2 separate regions of the Homo sapiens genome follow, and region 2 is linked to region 1. The links are contacts of gene promoters, found by promoter capture Hi-C in blood cells and fetal thymus (Javierre and others, 2016). All regions are on one chromosome and are shown on one strand. The core of a region is centred on a gene start or on the middle of the fragment in contact, and the rest is flanking DNA. Distances in the headings are between cores, read along the strand shown. Region 1 holds the start of KLF15 (KLF transcription factor 15). Region 2 has its middle 18 kb from the start of ROPN1B.

What was found. Contacts are between HindIII fragments. The CHiCAGO score rates a contact against its expected background, and 5 or more counts as called.
Region 2: a contact is called between a fragment that was not itself captured here and the fragment with the promoter of KLF15 in region 1, in 1 of 17 cell types (total B cells). The highest score is 5.1, in total B cells.

What each region holds. Positions count from the first base shown.
Region 1 is chr3:126,355,178-126,361,199 of GRCh38, reverse strand. KLF15 (KLF transcription factor 15) reads left to right here and starts at 3,792. Exons shown (of 3, transcript NM_014079.4): 1 at 3,792-3,963. RefSeq lists a silencer at 3,613-3,832 and enhancers at 3,731-4,490, 4,491-5,250. The HindIII fragment of the contact is 4,432 bases long and covers 2,211-6,022 here.
Region 2 is chr3:125,984,530-125,990,551 of GRCh38, reverse strand. It overlaps the pseudogene ALG1L1P. Among named protein-coding and RNA genes, the nearest start is that of ROPN1B, 18 kb to the right of the region's middle. The HindIII fragment of the contact is 231 bases long and covers 2,826-3,056 here.

The sequences.
Region 1 (6,022 bases), core at 2,543-5,042:
CATCTCTTACTTTGGTTATCTTCAAACAACCTTTTGAGGTAAGTAGGATAGGGGTCTGAGCACCCATTTTATAGATGAGGAAACTGAGGCTCTGAGAGACAAACTGATTTGCCCAAGGCCACTCAGCAGTGAGGGACTGTGTGAAAGAACCAGAGTCCAGGCTGCCACGCATGTACAGCCCCACTAGGCTGGGGTTCAGGCTGCCTGCCTGCCTGGAAATCTGTCAGGTGTCAGAGAGACCACAACTCATGGCAGAGACGGGGATGAGGGGAAGCTGAGGAGCCCTCTGACCCCAGCACCACACTGATGTGTCCATGGACCAGGGGAAGCTGGAGCTCTCATCCCACCTCAGCCCCTGCTGCTTCTGGATCCTCCGGGCAGGGGTATACCTGGGGCTTTGCCAATGCTCAGAGCCAGGGGCAGAGGCTCTCAGGGCAGAGGCTCTCAGGACTCAGCCCTTCTCTGTGTCTTCTTGGACCACCAGGTCCCCAGGTCCCTGGGCTGATGTTCCTCAAAGCTAGGTGTGCTCAGGGCTGGGGGGCTGGGGGTGGGGACAACACTGGTCATGAGAGAGGAGTGGGCCCTCATCTGAGTCGCCTGGTGTCAGAACAGACCTGACCTCTTGTCTACACAGCACCAGGGGTCTGCTTGGTGGGGAAACGGTCCAGCCCAGCCTGAGGAACCTCCTGCAGCATGTTTTTCCTGGCCCCTGGGCACCAGCAGCCCTTCTGCCTGCCTATTCCCTAGCCTCCAGCTCAAAACCACTTCCTGAGCCCAGAATGGGTAGGATCTCTTCAGCACCCCAGCCCTTAGAGGAAGAGGTGGTGAGAAGGTAAGGGACTCTGGCCAGAGACCCTTGAAGCATGGCTGGGGACAGGGGAGCTGAGAGTAGGGGGAATTGTTGCTTCCCACCTGGGAAGGGTGAGGAGAAGTCAGTCACTGTGGGAGGTCACAGGGCTTGATGGCCACAGTGGGCCCTTTGTGCACAGACCATTGAGCCACTGAATGGGGCCCTCAAAATGCTTCCTGGAAGAGGGCAGGCTGGGCTCAGACCCCCGGGCAGGCATGAGCTAGTGGGGAGGCTGGAAGTCTCAGGTATGTGTGTGGAACAGGGGATGAGGACAAGATTGGTGGCTACAGTACTGTGGAAGAGAGCACCAGACCTTGAAGAGCTTCTCCAAAGATCCCATATCCATTGGCAGCTTTACTGGGGCAAGAAGAAAATCTCATTTCCTCAACATGTTTCAGAAGTGTTCTAGGTTCTGGGGATACAGCAGTGAATAAAAAAATACAAGTCCATGCTCTTAAGGAGCTTGTCTCCTGATAGGAGAGACAGGCAAGAAACAAATCAATAAATAATATAAAGATCAGGATCATGAAGCAAAATAAACAGAGGCCAGGAAACTGAGGGCAGCAGATGTGCTGTTTTAGACGGGATGGGTGAGGAAGGTGTCTGGGATAAGGTGGCATCTGAGCAGAGACCTGAGTATGCGATGGAGCAATCCATGCAGCTGTTTAGGGGGAAACAAGAGACAATAGAAGAACGTTTCCCTGAACGAAGAAAGACTTGAGTTTCCAGATTAAAAGGATACACCAAGCATAGAGTAGTAACAATGAAAACAGAAGGAGGCTAGAGTCAGACATATCCTGGTAAAATGTGTGAAATTCAAGCATGGAGAAAGATCACTCCAAAAAGGCACCAGGCCCAAATGGTTTTATAGGCAAGGTCATACAATATTTAACCAATATAATTTATATCCTTCCAAGGCCCTTTTCTATACTTGATTATGTAGAAGTAGGGAAGGAATTGCTTTGGAAGAAAAGAAACTTAGAGATTTTCACTGCTATGAAGATAAATCTTTACTGTTTTTGGTCATCTGTTTTGAAGAGCACCACCTGACTTTGTTCTCTCCTTTCTGCCAAGGAATCTCAATGATAGATTCTCCCCACTATATTGAGGGAGCTTTTCTCCTTAGATATGGTTTGGGGTAAATGCTGTACCTAGCTGTAGGGCATTAAAGATTGTGGTGAAAACTTGGGCTTTACTTACTCTGAGTGAGTTGGGAGCTGCTGGAAGCTTCTGAACCCAGAAGGGACCTGATCTGACTCAGGTTTTAACAGGACCATCTTGGCTGTTCTCCAGTTTCTAGCCAGTGGGGCCTCCTCCCTGTGTGCTGAAGGTGCTAACGATGTGTCTTTGCTTCCAAGCTTTTTCTGACCTTTTGCTGCAGCTTTCACCAAGGAGATGGGAGGCACTAGACTGAGAGTATGTGAGGAGTGAAGACCGAGGGCGGGCAGGGCAGATGGAGAAGTGCTGTGGCTATGCCCAATCCAGACCTGCACTGAGACAAAATGAGGAATACAGGCCTCTATCTCTTCTCTTATGAAAATGGACAAATTCCACTGTTCTGCCCAGGCTAGCCAGGGCTGCTGTAATGCCAGAGTGGTCATTCCAACTTCTGTGAACTAGAAAGCCTCTCACCATCCTCAACACAAATGTCCTTAAAGCCCTCTGGCAACGCATTGGTTTGGCTCCTAGTGGCAGCAGCAGCTGAATCCCTGGCACTGACCTGGTGCACAGTGTCCCCAGATCCCTGGTCAAGCAAGCCTAGACCTATAGCATTCCAGAGAGCCTGGAAAGGGTATGGTTAAAAATTCCTGTTCTAGCAATGTCTTCAAGAAGAAGCAGGAGAAAATGCTCCCCACCTCCCAGTGCCAGGAGGGGAGAGGAAGGAAGCTCAGTAGGACAGCTCTGCACAGGTGGCCTGGGGGTGTCTGCAAGATGACCTGGCTCTACCTCTCTACCTGCTCCTTCCCAGCTGTGGGGCTGGGGAGGGCTGGTGCCCTCTCTGAGTCGGTTTCTTCATCTGTAAAGTGCTTGGCTGAGGATCCAGCTGGAGTGTGGATTAAAGGGCACAGCAGGGTGCCTAGCACCGTCAGCCCACGTGTTTTTCTTGGGCAAGCCACTCTGAGCCTTACTCTTCCTGTCTCTAAGCGGGAACCCAAATGCGAGCCAGGATTGCTGCGGACTAAAGCAGTCTACGAACGCTTTTGTAGACTGCGAAGCATTGTTTGGTCTTCAGAAAGGTGCCCCAGAGACAAGGTGTCATTGGTTTCAGGTGGGGGGGGGGGGGGCCGGTCAGCAAACCTCCTTAGTCCTGGAGGGCAGGGTGGCAGCGCAGAGCGCGCGCAATTTCCGGAGGGTAACTGATTGTCCTGCTGAAAGCCCAATACCGTATTTATCCAAAAATACGTCCTTCTAGGCAAGTGATTTATCTGACACTCAGCGGGGGACAGAGCTGCTTGTACCGCGCTGGGGATGAAGGTGGGGACGTGGGCCAGACCGGGCCAGACAGGCTCCCCAGCGCTTCCCGCTCAATCACGCAGACTGCACTTTGGGGCGATCTCAGAGCTTTTCTTAAGTCTTCAGGCCAGTCTCACGTTCTCACCTTGGGAACCGAGCTTTAGAAGCCGGCCCTCGTGGACGCCGCGAGACAGCGGCGAGAGGTGGGAAGCAAGGAGGTGGCTGCGGGCCAGGGACCAGGCAGCGTGTTGGGGGGCGTGCGCGTCTGGCAGCTCCGGGATCCCCGAGCATCCGCCGCTCAAGTCCGGGAGCCGCGCGGGCGGGCCGGGGCGGGGCCAGGGCGGGGCCAGGGCGGGGCGGGACGTGTGACGCGCAGCGCGGGCCAATGGGGCGCGCGCCCGGGGCCGAGCCTCCTGCGAGCCTTCGCGGCGCCCGCTGCGTCACGTGAGCGGCGGGGAGTGAGTGCCCAGCGAGCTGCGGGCGGGCTAGTGCTCCGCCGCAGCGACCCGCGGGCCGGCGGGCGATCGAGCCAGCGCAGGACCCGCGGCTCGGCCCCCGGCCGCCGCCGGACCGAGAGTCTAGCCGCCGCCCCCAGCCCAGCCCGCCCGGCCGCAGGACCGCCGGGGCCTGGCCGCCGGTCCGGCGTGCGCCAAGTTCAGGTGGGAGAGGCGCGGCGGGGCCGGCCGGCCGCGTGGACGCGGCCCCGGGTGATCAGAGGGCTGGCCGGCCTCGGGGCGCGTGGCCGTGCTCCCGCGCAGCTCTCGGAGGCACCGCGCGAGTGCTGGAGGAATGTCGGAGGAGCGGGATGGGCCCCCGCGGAGGTGGGCAGGGGTCGGACTGGCCCGGGGGAGGTGACCCCCCCCGCCCCGGTCGCCCACCAGCACTTTGCTGAGGCCCGCGCCGCCGCCTCGGTGCCTGGCCGGGCGATTCCGTGGCGCGCCTTGCGGGCCGGCCCTCCCATATGGTGGGCACCGGCGCGGCCTGGTGAGAGGAGGGGGAGAGCGGACGCGCTGGCCAGCCCGGGGTTGGGGGGCGGAGGGGCTGGAGACGGAGGGGTTACTGTCGGTCACCGCAGCAGTGTCGGGGGCAAGGGGGGGGCGTGGGACGAGGGCATGGTGCCCAGCGGGCAGCGGTCCAGGACTCTAGAAGGGGTCTGAGCCGGCTCTCTTCATTTCCCACGCACGTTTCCCCTCACCCGCCGGCACCCACGGCGGCTCCACGCGCGAGTCCTTCGCGGACAGCCTCCCGCACAGCCACAGCGGCTGCCGCGCACCACGCCCCGCACACGCAGTCACACGACAGGAACTCACACCCCTTCACGCACACCCGCACCGTTCACGCGTCTCACTCCACGCTGAGTCCCCGTCCGCTCAGACCGAACATTACCAAAGCCATGGCCTGACCGAGGGATGGCGGCGGCGGGGCAGAGAGGCCGTCCCCATCCCATATGGTGGTCCGGTTCACTCTTCCCTCCCCGCCTTGGTGTTACTCATGGAACCCCCCTCTCACGGAGGGCACAGAGGGGCTGTTTTCTCCCACGGCCCTCGGAGGTGACAAAATCAACAATTGTTTGAGAGCCTCAAATCTCCTTCCCCCTGTCCCCCCGGACCAGGTGGCCCCTGGGGAGACCCTGCCGCCCTACAGGTGTGAGGACGCCCGGACTCTGCGACTTTGGGGCCTGCGGGCGGCTCAGGGACCGGAGACTCTTATTTTGAAGGACAGCCCCCGCCGCCACCCCCGTGATTTGCACGCTGACCCAATGGCAAGCCCTTGGCCGGCGCTGGGCTTGTTATCAATTACATGTTGTTCCTGCAGCCGCTGTGTCCCCGGGAGGATAAACAGCAGGCCTGGCCGGGCCAGGGGAGGGGGCGGAGTCCGGCGGCCAGCCGGGGACTGTGCCCGGAACAGCGTGTCCCCTCCCCCTGCACGCAGCCTGCGCCTCTGGCCGCCCCACGTGCTGCTGTGTTTCAGGGGCCGAGCCAGCTCCAGCCCTAGAGTGTCCTCTCTTTAATGCCGGTGCCCTGGGACATCCCAGAGCCCTTTCTGGGTTGTCAGTGCCTGGGTGCTTCCCCCTTGGGACGTTCAGCCCAGCATTAAGACCCTGTTGGCTGACCTGGGCCACCCATTCCTACTCTCCGACCTCCCCCGCTCTCCCCCGCACCTTCCATTCACTCATTCAGCAAATTTTGCCCGGTCCTGTTTTAGACTCTGGGATATGGCCTTGGAGTGAACAGTCAGGACAGCTGATATTCTGATGGGAAGGTAGACAGGGAGGAAAGTTCACAAACACATCACCAAGATAGTTTCCCACAGTAGAAACTGCAGGGAAGAGTATAATATAGGATGATGTAACAGAGTGGGCCTGGAGGCCCCCACAGGGGTGACTTCTGAGCCGAGATCTAACTAAGCAGCTCCCACCTGCAGTGCTGGGGGAAGAGCCAGGGCAGTGGCCCCGGGCTGAGGCTGAAGTGAAGTGAGCACACCTGGACTAGAAGAGAGGCAGTTGGTGGTGAGGTCTGCAGAGAGTCCCAAGGGCCCAGGTGCTGGGCTGCTGCGAGGAGATAGGGCCACCTGTCCTTGGGAAGCCATTGGAGGGTGTTTCCTTCCAGCCCCCCTACTGTACTTTTTAGATCACTTTATCTGTCAATATCTGTTTATATGTTTAAAAGGTAAGGCCTCCTTTAACCACAATATGATCATCACAATTAAAAATATTAA
Region 2 (6,022 bases), core at 1,692-4,191, 370 kb after region 1:
TCACGCCGAAGGCCGCACTTCATAGTCTCCGACGCACCTCCAAACCCTTTCTCCTGCTCTAGGCCCAGCGCCTTGGACGTGCACAGTAGATCCCTCCCGGCTTCCCGGCTTCCCGTCTCGTCACCCTCTGGTAGGGGATGGGAGAAGCCAATAGCCGGCAAACGGGGCGGGGGCGAGGCATGGCTGGGGCGGGGCCGGGGCGGAGCCGCCGAGAAAAGGGTTAAGAAGCCGTTCCAGGGCTTGCGGTGGGGGTTCGGGACGAGGACCCGCCAGCGCCAGAGGAAGGGACAGGAGTAGGAGGCGGATAGGTTTCAGAAGGAATTGCGCGCAACTTTTTGGATTTTCGCTCTTTATTTTTAGTTTGGCATCGTGTGCCTTTTGGATGATTTTGTTCTTGATATTCTATAAAAATAAGACCTCCAGGTTGTTATCTTGCGTAGATGTGATGCCAATTTCAGAATTATTCCCTGTGGCCACTGATCTCAGAACGATGCTCGTTAGTTGGGATTTTGGGTTTACTTCCATGCGTACTTGTCTCCTCTTGTGTTGAGGTAATTACTTTTGATGAAGAATGACACAACATTCTTAGTATTGGCATGTGCACTCATTTTAATGAGGATTTTAGTCATTGGTTTTGGGGTTTAGGAATTGGGTTTTGGGTTGATGATTTAAATCAAGTTGAAGAGGGAGAACTCAGTTGATTCCATTTCAACTGTCGCCCAGGCTGGAGTGCTGTGGTGCCATCGCAGCTCAATGCAACCTTCGCCTCCCGGTTTCCAGCGGGATTCTCCTGCCTCAGCCTCCTGAGGAGCTGGGATTACAGATGCGCTCCACCACAGGCGGCTAATTTTTGTATTTTTAGTAGAGACGGGGTTTCACCATGTTGGCCAGTCTGGTCTCGAACTCCTGACCTCAGGTGATCTGCCCACTTTGGCCTCCCAAAGTGCTGGGATTACAGGCGTGAGCCACGATGCCCAGCCTCGTTTCTTTTTAATGGAGAAAAGAGCTACCCTTTAAAAATCTGTTACAATTAATGTCAAAGCCCAGGAACTAAAATATGTCCACCAATATATCACACACTTATCCTGAGTGATTTTAGGAAACTTGAGTATTTCACAGATTTAGTTTTGAATTAGATCAAACTGTGAAAACCTCTCCTTTCCTTCCCCAGCCCTCACATAACTTCATAACTTTCTAACATATTCACCTGAAATTAAGGGGTTTTTTTTTAGTTGTTGGTTTTTAAAAATTCATGTTGACTTTTCTTAATACATGTTTATTTTAGAAAATATAGATAAGCAAAAAAGGAAAAGACCACCCATAACCCCATTGCCCGTGAGTTATCACTCTGAACAGCTTGGTGCATTCCCTTCAAGATTTTTTCCACCTACGTATATATGTATAAATGTATTACAACAATATGAAATAATAGGTATTACTGTAACATGAGTGTTTTCTCTTAATATCTAATCAACATTGTTTCTCATTAATCTACAGTTATAAAATGGCTGCCTGGTGTTCCATGATTCATTTCCCTAGTGTTGGGAATGTTATGCCCCCACCCCACTTTTCATTTTGTTATTTGCTATTATAAATAATGTTGCAGTGAGCTGAGATCTGCAAATGAACTAGAGAGTGGAGAGCAGAGTATTCTAAAGATGTGGAGACAGCATGATGCTGAGAAAGAGAAACCCAGAGAGGCTCTTGCTGCTGAAGTATAGACAGTGGGGATGGAAATGTATGTAGGGCCAGACTATACAGTCCTCATAGGCTACATGATTTGGCTTATTATCCTAAGGCCATTGGGAATATGTAAAAGTTCAAGCAGGGGGCACAGTGAACTGACTGGGGTTTTACAAAGATCCATGGCTGTAGTGTAGAGCAGGAATCTGAAATCTACAGTCCCTGGCTAAATTCAGTCTGCCATTCTTGGATACAGCCTGAGAACAATTTTCACATTTTCAAGTAGTTTTTTTTAAGTGAAAGGAATAATATTTTGTGATGTGAAAAGTTACCTGAAAATCATCTCAGTGTTATAAAGTTTTATTGGAACACAGTCACACTAATGTGTTTACACATTATCTGTGCTACAACTGCCAAAGTTGAGTATTTGTGATAGAGACCACCTAGCCGGCCAAGCCTAAGATATTTACTATCTGTGCCTTTACAGAAGTTTGCTGATCACTAGCATAGAGGATGCTTGAGGGAAAGGCAAGTATGGGTGTGAGCAAGTTCTCTCCTCCTGCATCCATTCTCTGTCCTCCCCTTGGACCGACATCAGTCAGACATGCCCTCCAGCTTCAGGTTCTGTTTAGTCGATAGAAGAGGGAGAGAATGGGATATTCCTGCTATCTCAGCACCATTTGGCTGATGCACTGGCCCTCTGCATCATCAGGGGAGCCCCTGGAGCTCCAGTCTTCTCACACTGTAATAACATGTCCTTCTCTTTGTCTCTTCAGTCTTAGGGATGATAACGGTTTGCTAGTCCCTGGGTGCCTCAACCCCCTTGTTGTTTTCCTTGTCCATTCTGTAAAACTTTTAATTATCTTCAAAACTCTAGATTGTCTTCTGTTCCCTTTGAGGACCAGATTGATAGAAAGTCCAGATGAAATATATTGGTTGCTGGGAGGGGATGAGGGGACCTAAGGGAGGTGGTGGTGAGGGAAAGTGAAGAGGACATATTTGAGAGATGCATAGGAGATAAAATGGAGAGGACTTGGTGATAGAGTTGGAAAGTAAGGCAGGGGGAGGTATTTGTTGACCCTGGTTTCTGGGTTTTGTATCTTGGCAGATGGTGGGAGAGGTCCACATTTAGTAAGGAAGCTTATGAACTCATTTCTCTCCAACATTTTATTATGAAAAAAATGCAAACCAGGAAAGTCATTTTTGGATTTGTTAAATTAGGGAGTACTTTGGCGTCATCCAAGAAAAGATGTCAAGTTAGCTACTGTATAGTTGAGTCTGGAGCGTGGCAAAGATGTGTGGGCTGCAAATACACCTTTCTGAGTTGCCTGTGGCTTCCGAACTTGCTCTCAAATTACTTCCTCAAGAAAGCTTCTCTATCCTGCCCCTGCAAACTAGCTGTGTGCCCCATGCTTCTACGTAGTAGCATCGTTTCTCACAATTATAAACTTGTGTTTAGTTATGTAATGTCTGTCTTCCTAAGTATAATTTAATCTCTCTAAAAGCAGGGACTTCACCTTGTTCAGAGCAGTATCCCCAGTGCCTAGCACAATCCTTGCACTTGTAGGAATTTCTGAATTATTTGTTGAATAAACCAATGAATCAACTATTGTTTGGACTGCTTTGGTGCATTGGGGCTGACAGCTACTTGAATGTCCGAGGCTCGGGATTATCCAGGACTAGCCCTTTGAGCTTGGTCCGGAGGTTTAGTCCTTCTAGTATCATGGATACACAACTCTGCTTGTCTATCCAGTCTTTCATAATTCAGCACATTGAACCAATTACTTTGCCAATTGGCTCACCTCTGAAGTGTGAAAGTCTCTGTTCAGGTTTGACCATGTTCCAGTTTATAGGAAATGACCAAAGTTGAAAGTATATGAAGATCTAAACTAAAAACACCGATTTATGGCCAGGATCTAAGATTCAAAAAGTAAGAGGCTGTGGATAAGAAGTCACATGTTGGGAGCGTGAGCTCAGTTCTGCTTGGAAAGATCTGAGAGACTGTGCTGTTGTCTTTCCTCAAGCCATTTAGTGCTCTCTGGGGCTATTTTGAACCCAAAGGTTCTTGGCCTTTTGAGATAATATACAACTTTGAGAAATTGCTCAAAGCCTTATAATTTTTTCTTCAGAAAAATGCTAATGAGCACATTTTGGAGACATGGTTACATATATAATGTTATCAGAGGCACTCAGGAGCCTCTCCAAGGATTTCAGGTTAAGATTCCTATTCTAACCTAATTCAAAACCAGCCTTCCACATTGGGGTGTCCAGCTCCTTCTGTTGCAGGGCCCTGGTGATCCTGGAAGTAGTTGGTTAACTAGGGATGGTAGGTCCCTGATGGAATAGCATCAAGGAGAGGAAGGGCATGGAGCATAGAGAAAATGGAATTGGGCCATAATCTTTGCATTTCCCACTGAAGCTTATATATCTGCAGTCTTCACTTTAATCAAAATAGCTTAATTTAGGAAAGAAAGAGCCCACTGTTTTTGCTTTATAAAATCCTGATTTTATTGCTTCCTGAAATTTTTTTTAAAGGAGAAATACAAACCATACGTTGCAAGGGCCTTCGTTTGACAGTTTAACTGGGGTCATGCTAGGACTGTATAGATATTGCTGATTATGATAGGAAAGCCAGTGGGATGGGTCTGACAAGGATCTGTTGGCAGCAAGAATCAAGGGACCCCCTTTGGAATGATCCCATCACAAGGAAGAAATGGTTGGGGACAATGTGTCATGTTTGTGAGTCAGTTGTGAATTTTAATACAGCACAATGATGGTCACTTATTGCCCTGCAGACCCTGAAGACTTCTGCGTGACCCAAAGAAAGAAACATTAATAGTGATTAAAAAATGTTAAAACTTTGTTGTATTAAAATATCTGTAAGGCAGTGTAGCAGATGCAGGTGGCTTCTTATTGTGATCATCTATGACTTCCTGGCCGAGAGCCTTTTTCCTGGAGCAAAAGAAGCAAGCTGAGGCAAGCTGGAAAGGCAGAACATTAATTCACCTGGAAGAAGCCCTCAGTCAACGACAGGTGGGGATTATCCAGTGATGGATGAAGAGCTTCCTCACCCTTCGATTGGGATAACTCTGAGATGTGTTCTATGCTGTCTCCCAGAGTTCCCCAGCAGTATTGGAGTACAGGGGTAACTGGCTGGATAACACACCATTTATTAGCTTTCTTCCCATCACTATAATATCTTACTTTTCCTATCCCTATTCCCTGTTCCTGGGATCGCCTCCTAAAGAAACTATTTGCATGTAAATCTCTGTCTCAGGGATTATTTCAGGCTGGGGGTGGGAGGAATCCCATACCTAGACAGGCACTGAGGATATATACAAGGCATCATAGGTTTGGAGTCAGATCTGGATTCAAATTCTTTCTCACCAGTGACATTGAACAACTTAATTTATCTAAGATTGTTTGTTAGAGATAATGACACTGACCTCATAAGGTCATATTGTAAGGAAAAATTTGAGAATGTATAAAGCCGTGTACACAGTGGCTTACACATGGTAAGTGCTTAATAAATGTTGGGTATTATCATTAATACAGTATTTATAATATTGTTAATACAGCATAGCCCAGGTAGAGGGCAAAGCACAAAGCTGTTTTCCATCCTTGGGGTGACTGCAGAAGCAGGTTGATTTGGCAGATGTGCTGTAGATACTGTGTCCCTAGTGAGCAGCTGTGGCATAGCAATATCAATAGCTTAGAGCAAGCATTGCCCCAGTGAGCCAGGGCAGGAGAGGAGGAAGGTGGTGCACACCAAGTGGTGGCTCAAAAGATGAGCAATTGGCAGTGAACAATGGTATTGCCAATTGTGCTTAGTCTCAGTAAGCACGGATAGCTACAGCACCAATAACTTCATGTCTGTGTCTAGTATACACTTGGGTCGTTGGAATTTCATTAGCCTCACTCTTGAGGGATTATGTTCAAGGCTACCAAGACTAAGTTTCTGATTTCAACCTGTTTTCCCAAATGTACAAGGGACTCTTGCTTTTGTTACATTTATGAACCTAATTTGTTATTTTAAGGTCTTTCAAATTGGAGCTGTCTCTTCTGTCCCCCTTTATTCCCTATTTGCAGACAAGACCATATTTCAGTTCTTTGGCCACAGTGAAAGAGAAACTGAGACACCAAGAATCTGAGGCAGGTTAAAGGATTTCACTCGTTCTCTAATCCTGATTAATTACAGTGTCAGGTTTCACCTGTAGTGCTTCAGACTTCTCAAACAGCCTTAGGTTCCAGAGCAGATAGAAATGAGGGGCCACTCACATGTATACATATGTAACAAACCTGCACGTTGTACACATGTACCCTAGAACTTAAAGTATAA